2 separate regions of the Homo sapiens genome follow, and region 1 is linked to region 2. The links are contacts of gene promoters, found by promoter capture Hi-C in blood cells and fetal thymus (Javierre and others, 2016). All regions are on one chromosome and are shown on one strand. The core of a region is centred on a gene start or on the middle of the fragment in contact, and the rest is flanking DNA. Distances in the headings are between cores, read along the strand shown.

The links. The method cuts DNA at HindIII sites, captures the fragments that hold promoters and counts their contacts. A CHiCAGO score of 5 or more calls a contact.
Region 1: a fragment that was not itself captured here is called in contact with the fragment with the promoter of PML in region 2 in 1 of 17 cell types (total CD4 T cells); the score reaches 7.2 in total CD4 T cells.

The regions. Positions count from the first base shown.
Region 1 is chr15:75,203,510-75,210,199 of GRCh38, forward strand. It overlaps C15orf39 (chromosome 15 open reading frame 39), which reads left to right. Exons shown (of 3, transcript NM_015492.5): 2 at 2,490-5,315. The coding sequence starts at 2,540. Among named protein-coding and RNA genes, the nearest start is that of C15orf39, 5.0 kb to the left of the region's middle. RefSeq lists an enhancer at 3,766-3,815. The HindIII fragment of the contact is 6,893 bases long and covers 1-4,904 here.
Region 2 is chr15:73,988,882-73,996,251 of GRCh38, forward strand. It overlaps PML (PML nuclear body scaffold), which reads left to right and starts at 5,835. Exons shown (of 9, transcript NM_033238.3): 1 at 5,835-6,060. The coding sequence starts at 5,932. STOML1 (stomatin like 1) reads right to left here and starts at 3,414. Exons shown (of 7, transcript NM_004809.5): 1 at 3,210-3,414; 2 at 1,470-1,576; 3 at 227-376. The coding sequence starts at 3,342. RefSeq lists enhancers at 1-281, 2,691-2,820, 2,881-2,950, 6,248-6,417 and a silencer at 3,081-3,640. The HindIII fragment of the contact is 1,596 bases long and covers 4,495-6,090 here.

The sequences.
Region 1 (6,690 bases), core at 208-2,707, 1.2 Mb after region 2:
GGCAGGAGATCAGGTCATTCCCACACCCCTAAGAGTTCTCTGTTGGCTCCCTGAAGCCGCCACCCCTCCCACAAAGACTCCTGAGGGTCCCAGGTGGTTTCCTGTCTATTGACTGGGTCCCAGATAGGGGCCTCAAGAAGTCTCCAGAGCAAAGGGTATTCCATGGGCTGAGACCCAGGAGAGAGGGACTCCTGGGGTGGGGGTGGGGACCCAGCAGACCCCAAGAAGCATGTGGGGGAGGTGAGACCAAAGTCAGTACTTAACCCAGAGTGTCCCAAGGGTGGAGGTGGGGAGGATCCACACTTCAAAACCCTACAGTTCCTTCTCACAGCATTGCTGTGGAGTGAGATGGGGGCTTTCACCCCTCGATAGCAGGTTTCTATCATAGGACACTGCTGTTGGGACTGTCACCTGTGTCCTAATGGCCCCTCTGTGTCTTCTCTAGGCTGGCCTGAGGTGTGGGGTTCTGTCCAGGAGATGAACCAGCTTGCTTTCTGGGTCTGCCTTGGTGGAAGTGGGCATTGGCCCCCACACTAGCCTTGTGTTTTCTAACCCCAAAATGTGCCGGTCTAACTCAGCCTGTGGCTGTCATTGGCTCCAACCAGAAGAGGCAAGGAGAGGGCTGGTCCTTGCTTGCCAGTCACTGAAACCTGTGACACTTTGCCCTAATCATAGCAAGATTGAGCTAGGTGGTCCTTTCTAAGCTACTGAGAGTTTCCAGGAATAGGGTGCTGGCTGGGGGAGGTAGAGGTAGGTCAGTGTGGCCCCAGAAGACAGGCTTCAGATGAGCCCCTAACGGGTTACTGGGTGCCTGCTGCCCTGAGGGGCCTCAGTCCCCATCCTTCCTTGGTCTTGTCTTAGAGCTTTGTCTTTTTTCAGCACATAGTTTTTCCATCAATACAATGGGAGTAGTGGCTAAGTAGCACTCTGGCCCCTGGGGCCTCCCTCCCTGGACTTTTTTCTTTTCTTTTCTTTTCTTTTTTTTTGTTTTGTTTTTTGTTTTTTGTGTTTTTTTGAGGTGGAGTCTCACTCTGCTGCCCAGGCTGGAAGTGCAGTAGCACAATCTTGGCTCACTGCAACCTCTGCCTCCTGAGTTCACGCAATTCTCCTGCCTCAGCCTTCAGCGTAGCTGGGATTACAGGCATGCACAACCATGCCTGGCTAATTTTTTTGTATTTTTAGTAGAGACAGCGTTTCACCATGTTGGTCAGGTTGGTCTTGAACTCCTGACCTCAAATGATCCGCACACCTCGGCTTCCCAAAGTGCTGGGATTACAGGTGTGAGCCACAGCACCTAGCCACCTCCCTGGACTTTCACACACGCCCCTGACGCTGTCTTGGCCCCACCCTGCCATGTGCCTAGGAATCGCCATCTGCAGCTTGGGGGCTGGGGGTGGATCCAGGCTCCTCATGCTCTGGGACCTTCCTGCTGGTGCTGCAGCACCATCTGCTGGGCTGCCCTGACTCCTGCGGAGGGGGAGGAGTGGGGCGAGAGGGGTGTGGCTTGTACAGACTGATGTCCCCAGTTACCTCTCCTAGGGGACTGCTCTCCAGAGCCAAGTCCAGTATCTCAGCATTGGCTTTGGGCCTAGGGACCTGGGCTGGAGGCCCGACTCTGCCATTTTTGACAAGATCAGCAGGTCAGAGGAGTGTCACAAGAAATCTGTGAATTTGTAGACAATACTCAGATTCCATGTTTTGGCTGCAGTGGGCATCACTGTGGCATCTTGGAATAGGACCCTGTGGTGGGAGGCAGGAGGCCTGCTTCTCGTTGTGTCTATTTCATTGGTGACTTTGGGATGAATGGGTCTCCTCATCTGTATATGAGGGGGTGGCGGCAGGGTATGTCAAGTGACCCTGAGACCCAGTGCCCCTACAAATTCTGAAATCCCAAGAAGGAGGGGATCTTGGGAGTTGTATGGAGGAAAATCGAACAGAAGGGGCTCCTGGAGTGGGGATGGGTGGGGGTTCTGTGTAGAATAATTCATTAAACAAAGGGTTCTGCAGCTTAAAATATACGAGTTGGGGTCAGGAGCAGTAGGTGGTTCATGCCTGTGATTTCAGCATTTTGGGAGGCCAAGATGGGAGGATCACATGAGTCCAGGAGTTCAAGACCAGCCTGGGTAACATAGTAAGACCCTGTTTCTACATAAAATACTAAAATGAGCCGGGTGTGGTAGCAGGCACCTGTGGTCCCAGCAACCTGGGAGTTGGGAGAATCACTTGAGCCCAGGAGGTTGAGACTGCGGTGAGCCAAGTTCATGTCATTGCACTCCAGCCCGGGCAACAGAGTGAGACCCTGCCTCAAAAAATACATACACGAGTTGGAAACCTCTGTCACGTGGCTCATGCACTCACAGTCTTAACTGAGCATCATTTAAGCGCCAGGTTCTTAGGTGTAGCCGTGAGCTGATGAGAGCAGCAGCCCTCTGTTGCTTTGCCTGTAGCCTGTTTTCCTGACAGCCCCTGCCTTTCTCTCTCTATCCCAGGTCAGAAGTTGAGTAGCAGGGGCCTAGGAGGGCTCGAAGCCTTCACAGCGATGGCAGAGAAGCGACCCCTGAGAACCCTGGGGCCTGTGATGTATGGCAAGCTGCCCCGCTTAGAGACAGACTCCGGGCTCGAGCACAGCCTGCCCCACTCTGTTGGTAACCAGGATCCCTGCACCTACAAGGGGTCCTACTTCTCCTGCCCCATGGCAGGTACTCCTAAGGCCGAGTCTGAGCAGTTGGCGTCCTGGACCCCATACCCACCCTTGTACTCTACCGGTATGGCAGGACCCCCACTTCAGGCAGACAACCTGCTGACCAACTGCCTGTTCTACCGCTCGCCAGCAGAAGGCCCTGAGAAGATGCAGGACTCCAGCCCTGTTGAGCTCCTGCCCTTCAGTCCCCAGGCTCACTCCTACCCAGGCCCACCACTGGCAGCACCCAAACCTGTCTACCGCAACCCTCTGTGCTATGGGCTCTCAACTTGTCTGGGGGAAGGAGCAGTGAAGAGGCCACTGGATGTTGACTGGACTCTGGCGACTGGGCCCCTGTTGCCCTCAGCTGACCCACCCTGCTCTCTGGCCCCAGCTCCTAGCAAGGGCCAGACTCTGGATGGCACCTTCTTGCGGGGGGTGCCAGCTGAGGGGTCCAGTAAAGACTCCTCAGGGAGCTTCTCCCCATGCCAGCCCTTCCTGGAGAAATATCAGACCATCCACAGCACGGGCTTCCTGGCCTCCAGGTACACAGGTCCTTACCCTAGGAACTCCAAGCAAGCAATGTCTGAGGGGCCCTCAAGTCCTTGGACCCAGCTGGCCCAGCCCCTGGGGCCACCCTGTCAGGACACCGGGCCCACCCACTACCCACCACCCCACCACCCACCACCCCACCCTCCACAGGCCCTGCCTTGCCCTCCAGCCTGTCGCCACCCAGAGAAGCAGGGCAGCTACAGCCCAGCACTCCCACTGCAGCCTCTGGGGGGCCACAAGGGGACCGGGTACCAGGCTGGTGGGCTGGGCAGCCCCTACCTGAGGCAGCAGGCAGCCCAGGCACCTTACATTCCCCCACTGGGGCTGGACGCTTACCCCTACCCCTCTGCCCCTCTCCCAGCACCCTCTCCAGGCCTCAAGCTGGAGCCGCCTCTCACTCCACGGTGCCCATTGGACTTTGCCCCCCAGACACTGAGTTTTCCTTATGCCCGGGATGACCTCTCTCTCTATGGAGCATCCCCTGGGCTTGGAGGGACACCACCTTCCCAGAACAATGTGCGGGCTGTGCCACAGCCTGGTGCCTTCCAGAGGGCATGCCAGCCTTTGCCAGCGAGCCAGCCCTGCTCAGAGCCTGTGAGGCCTGCACAGGAAGCCGAAGAGAAGACCTGGCTGCCCAGCTGCAGGAAAGAGAAGCTCCAGCCCCGGCTCAGTGAGCACTCTGGGCCGCCCATCGTCATCCGAGACAGTCCAGTTCCCTGTACCCCCCCAGCACTGCCCCCCTGTGCCCGGGAGTGCCAGTCTCTTCCACAGAAGGAGGGCGCAAGGCCACCCAGCTCTCCACCAATGCCTGTCATTGACAATGTCTTCAGCCTGGCCCCCTACCGTGACTATCTGGATGTGCCGGCACCCGAGGCCACAACTGAGCCTGACTCTGCCACAGCTGAGCCTGACTCAGCCCCAGCCACCAGTGAAGGTCAGGACAAAGGCTGCAGGGGGACCCTGCCTGCCCAGGAGGGCCCCTCAGGGAGTAAACCCCTAAGGGGCTCACTTAAGGAGGAGGTAGCCCTGGATTTGAGTGTGAGGAAGCCCACAGCAGAGGCCTCCCCTGTCAAGGCTTCCCGTTCTGTGGAGCATGCCAAGCCTACTGCAGCCATGGATGTGCCAGATGTGGGCAACATGGTGTCAGATCTGCCAGGCCTGAAAAAGATAGACACAGAAGCACCAGGCTTGCCTGGGGTGCCAGTGACCACAGATGCCATGCCAAGGACCAACTTCCACAGCTCTGTGGCCTTCATGTTCCGAAAGTTCAAGATCCTCCGTCCGGCACCTTTGCCTGCAGCCGTGGTCCCGTCCACGCCCACCTCAGCTCCTGCTCCCACACAGCCTGCACCCACCCCCACATCTGGGCCCATTGGACTGCGGATTCTCGCTCAACAGCCCTTGTCTGTGACCTGCTTCAGCCTGGCACTGCCCAGCCCTCCAGCCGTAGCTGTGGCCTCCCCTGCCCCTGCTCCAGCTCCATCCCCTGCTCCGGCTCGAGCTCAGGCTCCAGCTTCAGCCCGGGATCCAGCTCCAGCTCCAGCTCCAGTTGCAGGCCCTGCTCCAGCATCTACTTCAGCCCCAGGGGACTCCCTGGAGCAGCATTTTACAGGACTACATGCGTCCCTGTGTGATGCTATTTCTGGCTCCGTCGCCCACTCTCCTCCAGAGAAGCTTCGCGAGTGGCTAGAGACGGCTGGGCCCTGGGGCCAGGCTGCGTGGCAGGACTGCCAGGGTGTGCAGGGGCTGCTGGCCAAGCTGCTGTCTCAGCTGCAGCGCTTCGATCGCACCCACCGGTGCCCCTTCCCCCATGTGGTGCGAGCTGGCGCCATCTTCGTGCCCATTCACCTGGTGAAGGAGCGGCTCTTCCCTCGGCTGCCACCCGCTTCTGTGGACCATGTGCTGCAGGAGCATCGTGTGGAGCTGCGGCCCACCACGCTGTCGGAGGAGCGGGCACTGCGGGAGCTCGCCCTGCCAGGCTGCACCTCACGCATGCTGAAGTTACTGGCGCTGCGCCAGCTGCCGGACATTTACCCCGACCTTCTCGGCCTGCAGTGGCGCGACTGTGTACGCCGCCAGCTGGGTGAGCATGGGGCAGCCCCAGTGGCCACCGGAGCTGTGTGAGCAAGTGACAGGTGTGTGTGCTGTGTGAGTGCGTCACAGCTGGGGCTGAGTGATTCCAAGGACTCCTGCCCGGGTAGGGGGCTTTAGGATGAGCTCTAGGTACCCCCACCCCTTGACCCTCCAGACAATCAGTGAGCACCTTCATAGCCTCTTTTGTAGGCTTCTGAACATGCCAGCTGCTCTGTCCCCATGGAAACTCCTCGGCCTCCCCTGGTGCTGCACCTTCTTGGATTCCCTCCTCCTCTGCCTGTGCCTTCTCCATCTTTGGTGCAGTGTTTCCGGCACTCTGGTTAGGCCCTGTTTTCTAGCTGAGATAATTTCCCTGATCTCCAGCCTAGCATCCCCTTTGTGAGCTCTAGCCCTAAATAACCCACTGCATGCTGGGCCTCAGCCCCTGGGTCTCTCTCCCACACTGAACTCATCCCAAATCACACTCCCGAGCCTTCCCCTCAGCTCACTTCCCACAACCAGTTCTTTTCCATGTCAGTGAAGGGCACCCCCTTTCACAAAGCTCCTCATGCTCTAGACCTGGTGAGGGCCACAGCTGCCTTTTTGAACGTGTAGTTTTGCAGTCCTCCCCGGCCCTTACATACACAGAAGTGTGCGCATAAGTCGCATTGTTTTGTGGTTTGCTTTTCCTCTACTAAATGATGTGCCTGCTGTTCTCCAGCTTGTTTTCTTTTAATGTCCTGGAGGACCACACAACTGCCGAAGTGTTGTGTGGCGTGTATGATCACACTTCTTCAGCTAGGGATCTGGTGATGGGACCAAGTGGATTCTGTTATTGCCCCTCCTGCGTCAGTACACCTGGCATTGCAGCCTGAGGCCCCCTCTAGTTTTTCTCTCCCTGCTGCCCCCAATTCCACCCTCTCCCATTTCCACTGCCCAGCCTCTTCCCTGTAGAAACTGTTCCTAGTTCCATCCCCGTAGTGGCAGCCTTGCCCCGGGCCCTTACCTGGTTGGGATGGGGAAGGGCCTGTGGCAGTGAGGTGCAGATGAGCTTAGGGGCTGGCTGACCAGAATCCCTGATCCCTGAGTACTTACAAAATTGGAGCAGATGCCTTAATGGGATGCAAAGGAAATCCAGACTCAGGCGATCTGTTACTGAGTGAGGGTCCCACATCACTCAGGGCTGGGCTGCCCAGCTCAGTCCTCTCCCCATACAGTTGGGCTGTCTGGGGCCCAGAGAGGGTCAGGTCTGTTTCTCCTGGGCTGCCTGATCAGCAGTGGAGTCTGGGCACTCCACACAGTCCGAGGTGCTCTGACTGGAGCTTGCAACAATCGGGGGGCCTGGGAAGCAAGTGATTGAGACCAGGCTTCTGGCTTCTGGCTGA
Region 2 (7,370 bases), core at 4,585-7,084:
TTGAACCACCTGCTTGGCAGCTAGCTCCTCAAGGGCAAATGGTGTCACCAAGTATGTAGGGTTAGGTGTATGAAGCAAGGATGTCCTCCTAGCTTCCATCAATTTTCTGGTCTCTTCTTCCCCCTTCCCCCCTCAGATGGTGACTCACAGGCTGAGGTCCTGGCACCACAGTACATTCTGGACAGGCCCCCAGTTCCTCTGTCAAGGCAGCTGAGAAGCCCCTCACCTTGCAGGGAGGGACGTTGAAGGCTCGTGTCCTCAGATCCACCCTCTGAAAGGAGTCAATGAAGGGCAAGAGCAGAACCATGCCAGGTCCCTGGGGGGTGCGGATCCGGCCCAGGCGGAACACAATCATCCGCTCGTAGGTGGGCACAATCTGTCCACAATGGCAAGGGAAAGAGTTGAAAGTGGTCAGCCTAGGCTGGCCAATGCTGTCTGCCTAGGTCCCTTCCTCACTTCTCTCCTCCTCACCTGGGTCACAGTTAGGTATCCCTAGCACTGTTTCCAGATGAGAAAACCAAGGCTCAGGGAAGCTAAGTGACTGCTCAAAAATTGCATAGCCCTAAGTGAAATAGTGAAGATTTGAATGCAGTTCTGAATAACTCCAAAGGCCATGTGTCTTAACTACTGCACTGTATTGACTTGATCCTTAGAGAAACTTTTCATCTCTGTGGTCTGAAGTTAGACATGACTCATACCAGGAAACTGTCTGTCCTTGGATTAGTTAGGAGAAAAGGCTCGGCTGCCCTAACAGCACCCCCGGGGAAAGGGCTTTGTCAACTTTAGGTCCCTGGACCTCCTAGAGAAGTAGTGATGTCCAAATTGAGAAATGAAGGCCCAGAGAGGCAAAGAAACCTGTTCAAGGTCACATGGCATTTGTTTCTGTGGCAGTTTTAGAACTAGGATATAAGGCCATTTAAGGACCCCCTTGCAGACCACACCAAACCCAGAGGTTTTCTAGAGAGGGACTGTTGCCTAGGGCTACACAAAGGGCAAGGCCTCCTTGGGCTTCCACCTTCCCCCAGCTTTCACGTGCGATGCTGAACTATAGCTCCATGGTTCATCCTTTTCCCACTGTACCACCCCTTATGGAAAATGAGGCCTGAATTCCTATTATGCACTACCAGCTGGGCTAAGTTGGGTGTTTTCATTTCTAATTTATTCTAACCCAAAGAGAAGATAATTTGGCAAAGACATCTGCGTGTACCTTAAAGCCAGTGTCCAGATCCCAGGACTTAGGAGTTTGGGACTTGCTTCTACCCCCTACTGGCTCCCAGTATGACTTTAGACAAGCCCAAGCCTTAGTTTCCTCCCCTGACCAATGTGAATGAATGGTTCTTGCCTAGCCCATTACACAAAGGGGTAATAATATTTAGGGAAAGGGGACAGAGGATAGGCAAATTTATTCATCAATGCCAAAGCTCTCAGTGTGGCCCAACCACCCTGGGGGCTGACCCAGCCAGCCTTACCTTCAGGGCAAACCAGCCAGAAATGGGGAAGGTGACCAACAGCAGCAAGAACCCCAGGAAACTGATGAGGCCATGACAGAGGCAGGAGGGCCAGCTCTGGGGTACATCTGCAGGTGAGAGCAGAGGTGGTCAACTGGACCTGCACGACAGCTGCCAAGCGGAGTGAACTTGGGCAAGTGTACCTTACGCCCACCTTCCCCTCGAGAGGCTCCTTCCTTCTCAGGGCTCTCAATCTGGCTCCTTGCCTAATATTCCCGTATCTTTGGGCAGCTGCAAGTTAGGGTCTGTTCCCTCCTCCCATACATCAACACTCATTTGTCCCAAGTCCAACAACCCTCACAAGGCCTTATTCTCTGCTAGGCAACAGCCATTCAATCTCAGAATCCAGTCCGCGTGATGATGCTCTCCTCACTGGACTGAGTAGGGGTCAATCCTCTCGTTTAATTTATATTGCCTACCCATACCTGGCATGGAGCCAGGAGCACCTGGGCATCTGTAAACATGCACTGAATACTGCTGGCAAAACACATTCCTCCTATACCATCAGCCCCAGAAGTGTGCTTTCCAGGAGTCCTTATGAAGATGATGCCTTAGCCTACAGGGATAAATCATAAATAGCTTATCAACGGGAGCCACAGATGAGGAATTAGATTATTATTTTCTATTCCACACCCAACTTTAATGCCTTAATGACCATTAAAAAATGCCTATTTCACGAGATGGCGCCACTGCACTCCAGCCTGGGGGACAGAGCGAGACTCCATCTCAAAAAAACAACAAACAACAAAAAACAAAAACAAAAAAAAACCCTGCCTATTTCAATTCAAGAAAATTGTTAGGGGTCGGGGTCAGGGGCAGGGCTAGAAAGATGAGGCTTATCCAAGCCAAATGTCCTGGCCCCTGGAGATTCAGGAGCCCAAGTTGGGAGCAAAGCCGAGACAGCTCCAGAATCTGGGATGAGGTTATTTGCCGCTTTCCTCCCAACCCTGGACAGGAAGCAGTCGGGAGCCCTGCTCCATTCTTCCAGGAAGCCCTGCCCTCTGGGCTAAGCCCCAGAGCACTGAGGCTCCACTTTGTGCCTGGCTCTGATCCACCAGGCCTCTCAAGAGACTTCTGGATAGGGAGAGCTTTCAGGACAGGAAGGCCAGGGAGGGATCAAATCCAAGGTTAGGCGGTTAGGCTGAACAGCGTGGGATCTGGCCTGTAGGCCAAAGGAGCCACAGAAGACTTTGAGGGCAAGACAGAAGCAGGGCAGATCCAACAGGCAGCTGAGGACCTGTCATTTTGGCCTGCACATCCAGGAGATGCCTAGTTCCCGGGCTTCTAGAGGTGCCCCCTAGGGCGAAAATTCTTCCATTTCCCTGCAGCAGGTGCCTTTAGGGTGCTGGTGGCCTCCTCTGCCTAGACCTCGGTTTCTTCTATGCGAAATAGAAACCTGAAACGTCTTCCCAGGCCTAAAGGGCTGATAAGAGCCGAGGACAAATGTGGTGAGGTGAGGTTTTGGAAGATAGGAGCAACGCTGGCTGGCTCTGGGGCCAAAGCCCCATGACCCTAGGGAGGGCGGATCGGCGCTAGCACCAGGCGCCGGGTCCAGCCCCCTCTCCACATCGTATCCCTTTCTCAGTCCCCCCTCGTAGGGTGCGACGGCACCGGGCCGGCCGACTCCTCGGAGGCAGAGATTCGGGCCTGGGGGTTGCCGGCCGGTCCCCCCCGGCTCCGCCGTGCCAGGCGGCCACTCACCGGCCCCTGTCCCCACGCCGCCCCGCTCCGGGGACAAGCAGCCCTTCTGCGAGCCCAGAAAGCCGAAGCTCGACTGCTGGAAGCGGTCAAAATCACCCAGGGGCAGCGCCCGGTACCCAGACCTGCCGAGCATGGCTTTTGACAGGAGACACGCCCCGCGCCTCCGCGCGGCGCCCTCCCTGGCCAGTGGGCCCTACGCGGCCCCGCCCTCCTGGCTGCTGCTTCCGGCTTCACCCGCGCGGCCACCCGCGGCGGCGCGGGCGCAGGAAGAGGAGGCCGGCCGGGGCCCGCTTCCGCCGTCGCATGGCTCCCCCTGCGCTGGGAGGACCGAACTGCAGCCCAGGGCTACTGGGTGTGATCGGCGTTCCTCGGACCCCGCTGGGGTCATCGCCTCCTCCCCTCTTCTCCTACTCAGCCCTAGAAAAGCTGGAGGGGAAGCTGGGCACGGTGGCTCACTCCTATAATCCATCAATTTGGGAGACTCAGGCAGGAGGATCGCTTGAGGCCAGGAATTCAGGACCATCCTGAGCAACATAGTGAGAGCCCATCTCTACAAAAAATTTTTAAAAATTAGCCTGGCGTGGGATGCCTGCCTGTGGTCCCAGCCACTTGGGAGGCTGAGGCGGGAGGATCTCTTGAGTCCAGGAGTTTGAGGCTGCAGTGAGCTATGATCGTGCCACTGCACTGCAGTCGGAGCGAGAGAGCAAGATCTCATCAGGGTTTACAGGAAGCCAATCTTCTCCAGGATCAAGGACATGCTATATCAGCCTTCTCAGCACTCCTTCTCTCACACTGGAGGCAGGACATGCCATATCTGGACTTTGGGTTTCTCTGGGACATAGTCTGCAAATTATTCCTCTTTGTGAACCCACAGCCCAGCAAGCAGGGACTGGCATAGGGCAGGTCTCAATACTTATTTGTTAAGTAATGGCCTGGCCAGGTCACCGTGATCAAGGTGGAGTAGGAAGGCCTGAACTTTGGCACAAAAAGAAAGAAGTTTCACATGCAGACTTCGGGGAGCATGGGAGTGTAAGGAAGAAGGGGATAGCACAGAGCTACATGAGGGCAGGGGCCCCAGAGCACCACAGAGGTGAGGCCCTCAGTCCTGCAGGTCCAGAAAGAGCATGCCCCTTGATCCAGGTACCTGGAATTAACTTGCCTCTCCAGGGCTTGAGAAAACCTGAATGCAACTCGTGAATTTCCTTTGAGAAGTGTTAACTTCCAACAGGACTTTGGGGTAGTCTGGGAGCAGGCTATCTTCCAAAGCAAGCAAAGAAATGAATAAAGCTTCCCCAGCTCTGCCTCCTCAGCCAATCGCCTCTGGCCTCCGAAGCCCCATCCTGCCATAGCCCACTTCCAGGTCCCTTGTGCAGATGGCTGCCCACCATATTTGGCTTTCATGGACTGATTCTCTAAAGGCCTGGGAGTACTGACCAGGCTGGAGGGAAGGGCAGGCTCCTGAGGCCTTACAGTCCCTAGGAAGTTGCGTATCTGCCCAACCCCTGCTCTCCACCCTGCAGACTGTAAGGTTTACAAGAGCCAGGCCCTATCATCATCCTTTCTAGTCTGTTTCTAAGTTGGAACAGAGTACGGAATGGGTACACAGGAGCCAGCACAGTGGTTGCGATGGTTTAAGTTTGAAGCCGGGGCGCTGACCCAGTGAGGTCACCTGGAACTGTGCCCCTTTCCCCTTACCAGCTGGGAGTCTGACATGCTTTTCCATTGGCGAAGACCTAGCTGGCTCTCCCCTCACCCTCTTCATACCCGCTCTCCAGCTCTCCCCCTCCCTCCTGCCCCCACCACCTCAGATCCACCAGCCTTTCCAGCTGTCACTCAAGGCATCATCCTGCTCCCTCACCTCCAGTCACTGGCTTCCCAGGATCTCTGAATCAAGTCCCTCCTCTGCATCCCACAGCCACTGTCCTAGACCAGGGCACCTGCTCCTAGGTTGTCAGAGTGACTGTCCCATCATGCACAGCTGATCGTGTTGTTCCCTGGTTCCAAATCCTTCAGCAACTTCCCATCACTCACAGAACTGGTTCAATCTCCTCAGCTAGGATCTTGTCCTAGCACACTCCTTGGGTATCATTTCTCATGAATTCCCTCTTAAATCTGAAAATGGCCAAAATTAGTTCCCAAACAGGCTTTTGCAAGAGCTATCTTTTCTGTTTCAAGTGTCCCCCGTACCCCACCACCTACAACCCTAAATCCCTGGTGAATTTCCACTGCTTTTGCAGGTCCCAGCTGTGGGCTCTCCTTTCCAGAATGTCTCCGTTTGCAGGCTTGCTCTTCCATTACATCTACGGCTCTTAGAAAGCAGGGGCTGCGTGTGGCTCATCTTTGTACGCCCAGCTCCCGGCAGGACGTGGCACGAAGCAGTGCCAGTGTGAACGGATGAATGGATCAAAGCCGGGAGCAGGGCTGCCCCCCTGCAGCTCTGCCCTACCTCTCCCGCTTTACCGTAAGTCAGCGGTAGGTCTGCAGCTCTCCGCCTCTACCTCCTCCCCGCTCTGGGCGTGTCTTTAAAACCCACAGTCGGCCTCTCTGCCCCCTAGAACCGCCCCCAGCTTCTGTCTCACTTCCTCTCCAGAGGCGGGCCCTGAGCCGGCACCTCCCCTTTCGGACAGCTCAAGGGACTCAGCCAACTGGCTCACGCCTCCCCTTCAGCTTCTCTTCACGCACTCCAAGATCTAAACCGAGAATCGAAACTAAGCTGGGGTCCATGGAGCCTGCACCCGCCCGATCTCCGAGGCCCCAGCAGGACCCCGCCCGGCCCCAGGAGCCCACCATGCCTCCCCCCGAGACCCCCTCTGAAGGCCGCCAGCCCAGCCCCAGCCCCAGCCCTACAGAGGTACTATTGGGTTAGGGGATGATGGGGTTAAGCTTTGTTGGTTTGCTGTGGTGGGGAGAGGCGGGAAGAGAGGGTCTAACGGAGGATTTGGTCAAGTACCCTAGAGAGTGACACAAAGCGGGAAGTCCAGACACCAGGGTCCTGACCGTCTCGGGTGGGGCAGGGAAGGGAGGGTAGGATAGAGTAGAAAAGAGGACACGGAGGAGTTGGGGCGGCCTCGCTGGGCTGCGGTTTCTCCACTGAGCAGTTGGGCAAGGTGAGAAGGGTCAGTGGCCTCCGGGCCTGGGCCCTTCCGCCCACCCTCGAGCCCTGCCTCAACTTTGCCTCAGATGCAGGACTTCAGATTAGGGAGGATGGAGGTAGTACCCCTGTTGCGCTGGCCTGGAGCCAGGGGCATGTCCCAGGCACGGCAAAACTAAAACCAACTTCCCAGATCCGAGGTGAGAAACTGGCTCAGACTGAAGAGGTATCTTTGCCAAGGCCTCCCAGCTCATGTGGTTTCTGCTTAAGGAAGCCTCCCCAACGAACCCTTCTCTTGCCACACCTTTCCTGCCCACCTCCCACCTCCCCCGACAAAGGAACTACTTGGGTTTCTTGCTCTGCTGCCTTTCAGGCCCTTTTACTCCCCTTCATGAAAGTACAGAGGACACCGTATTACAGTAACTTTTATAAACATTATTACAACTAAGAATAACATTACTTAACAATACTAGGTAACATTTATGAGCACTTCAAATGTGCCAGGTACTGTATTAAGCACTTTGGTTTTTTTTTGTTGTTGTTTGTTTGTTTTGCTTTGTTTTTTGTTTGTTTGTTTATCTGTTTGTTTTTGAGACGGAGTCTCACACTGTCGCCCAGGCTGGAGTGCAATGGTGCGATCTCGGCTCACTGCAACCTCCTCCTTCCGGGTTCACGCCATTCTCCTGCCTCAGCCTCCCGAGTAGCTGGGATTACAGGCCACGCCACCATACCTGGCTATTTTTTATATTTTTAGTAGAGATGGGGTTTCACTATGTTGGCCAGATTGGTCTCTAACTCCTGACCTCGTGATCCACCCACCTCGGCCTCCCAAAGTGCTGGGATTACAGGCATGAGCCACCATGCCCGGCCTGTTTTTGTATTTTACAAAATGTGGTAAAATATACCTAATGGATAAGTTCCTATGTTAACCATTTATAAGTGTACCATTCAGTGGCATTAAGTAGATTCACAATATTGTGTAACCATCACCACCATCTATTTCCAGAACTTTTTCATTACTCCAGAAACTCTGTACTCTTTAAACCATAGGGGAGGGAAAGATGGCTTGC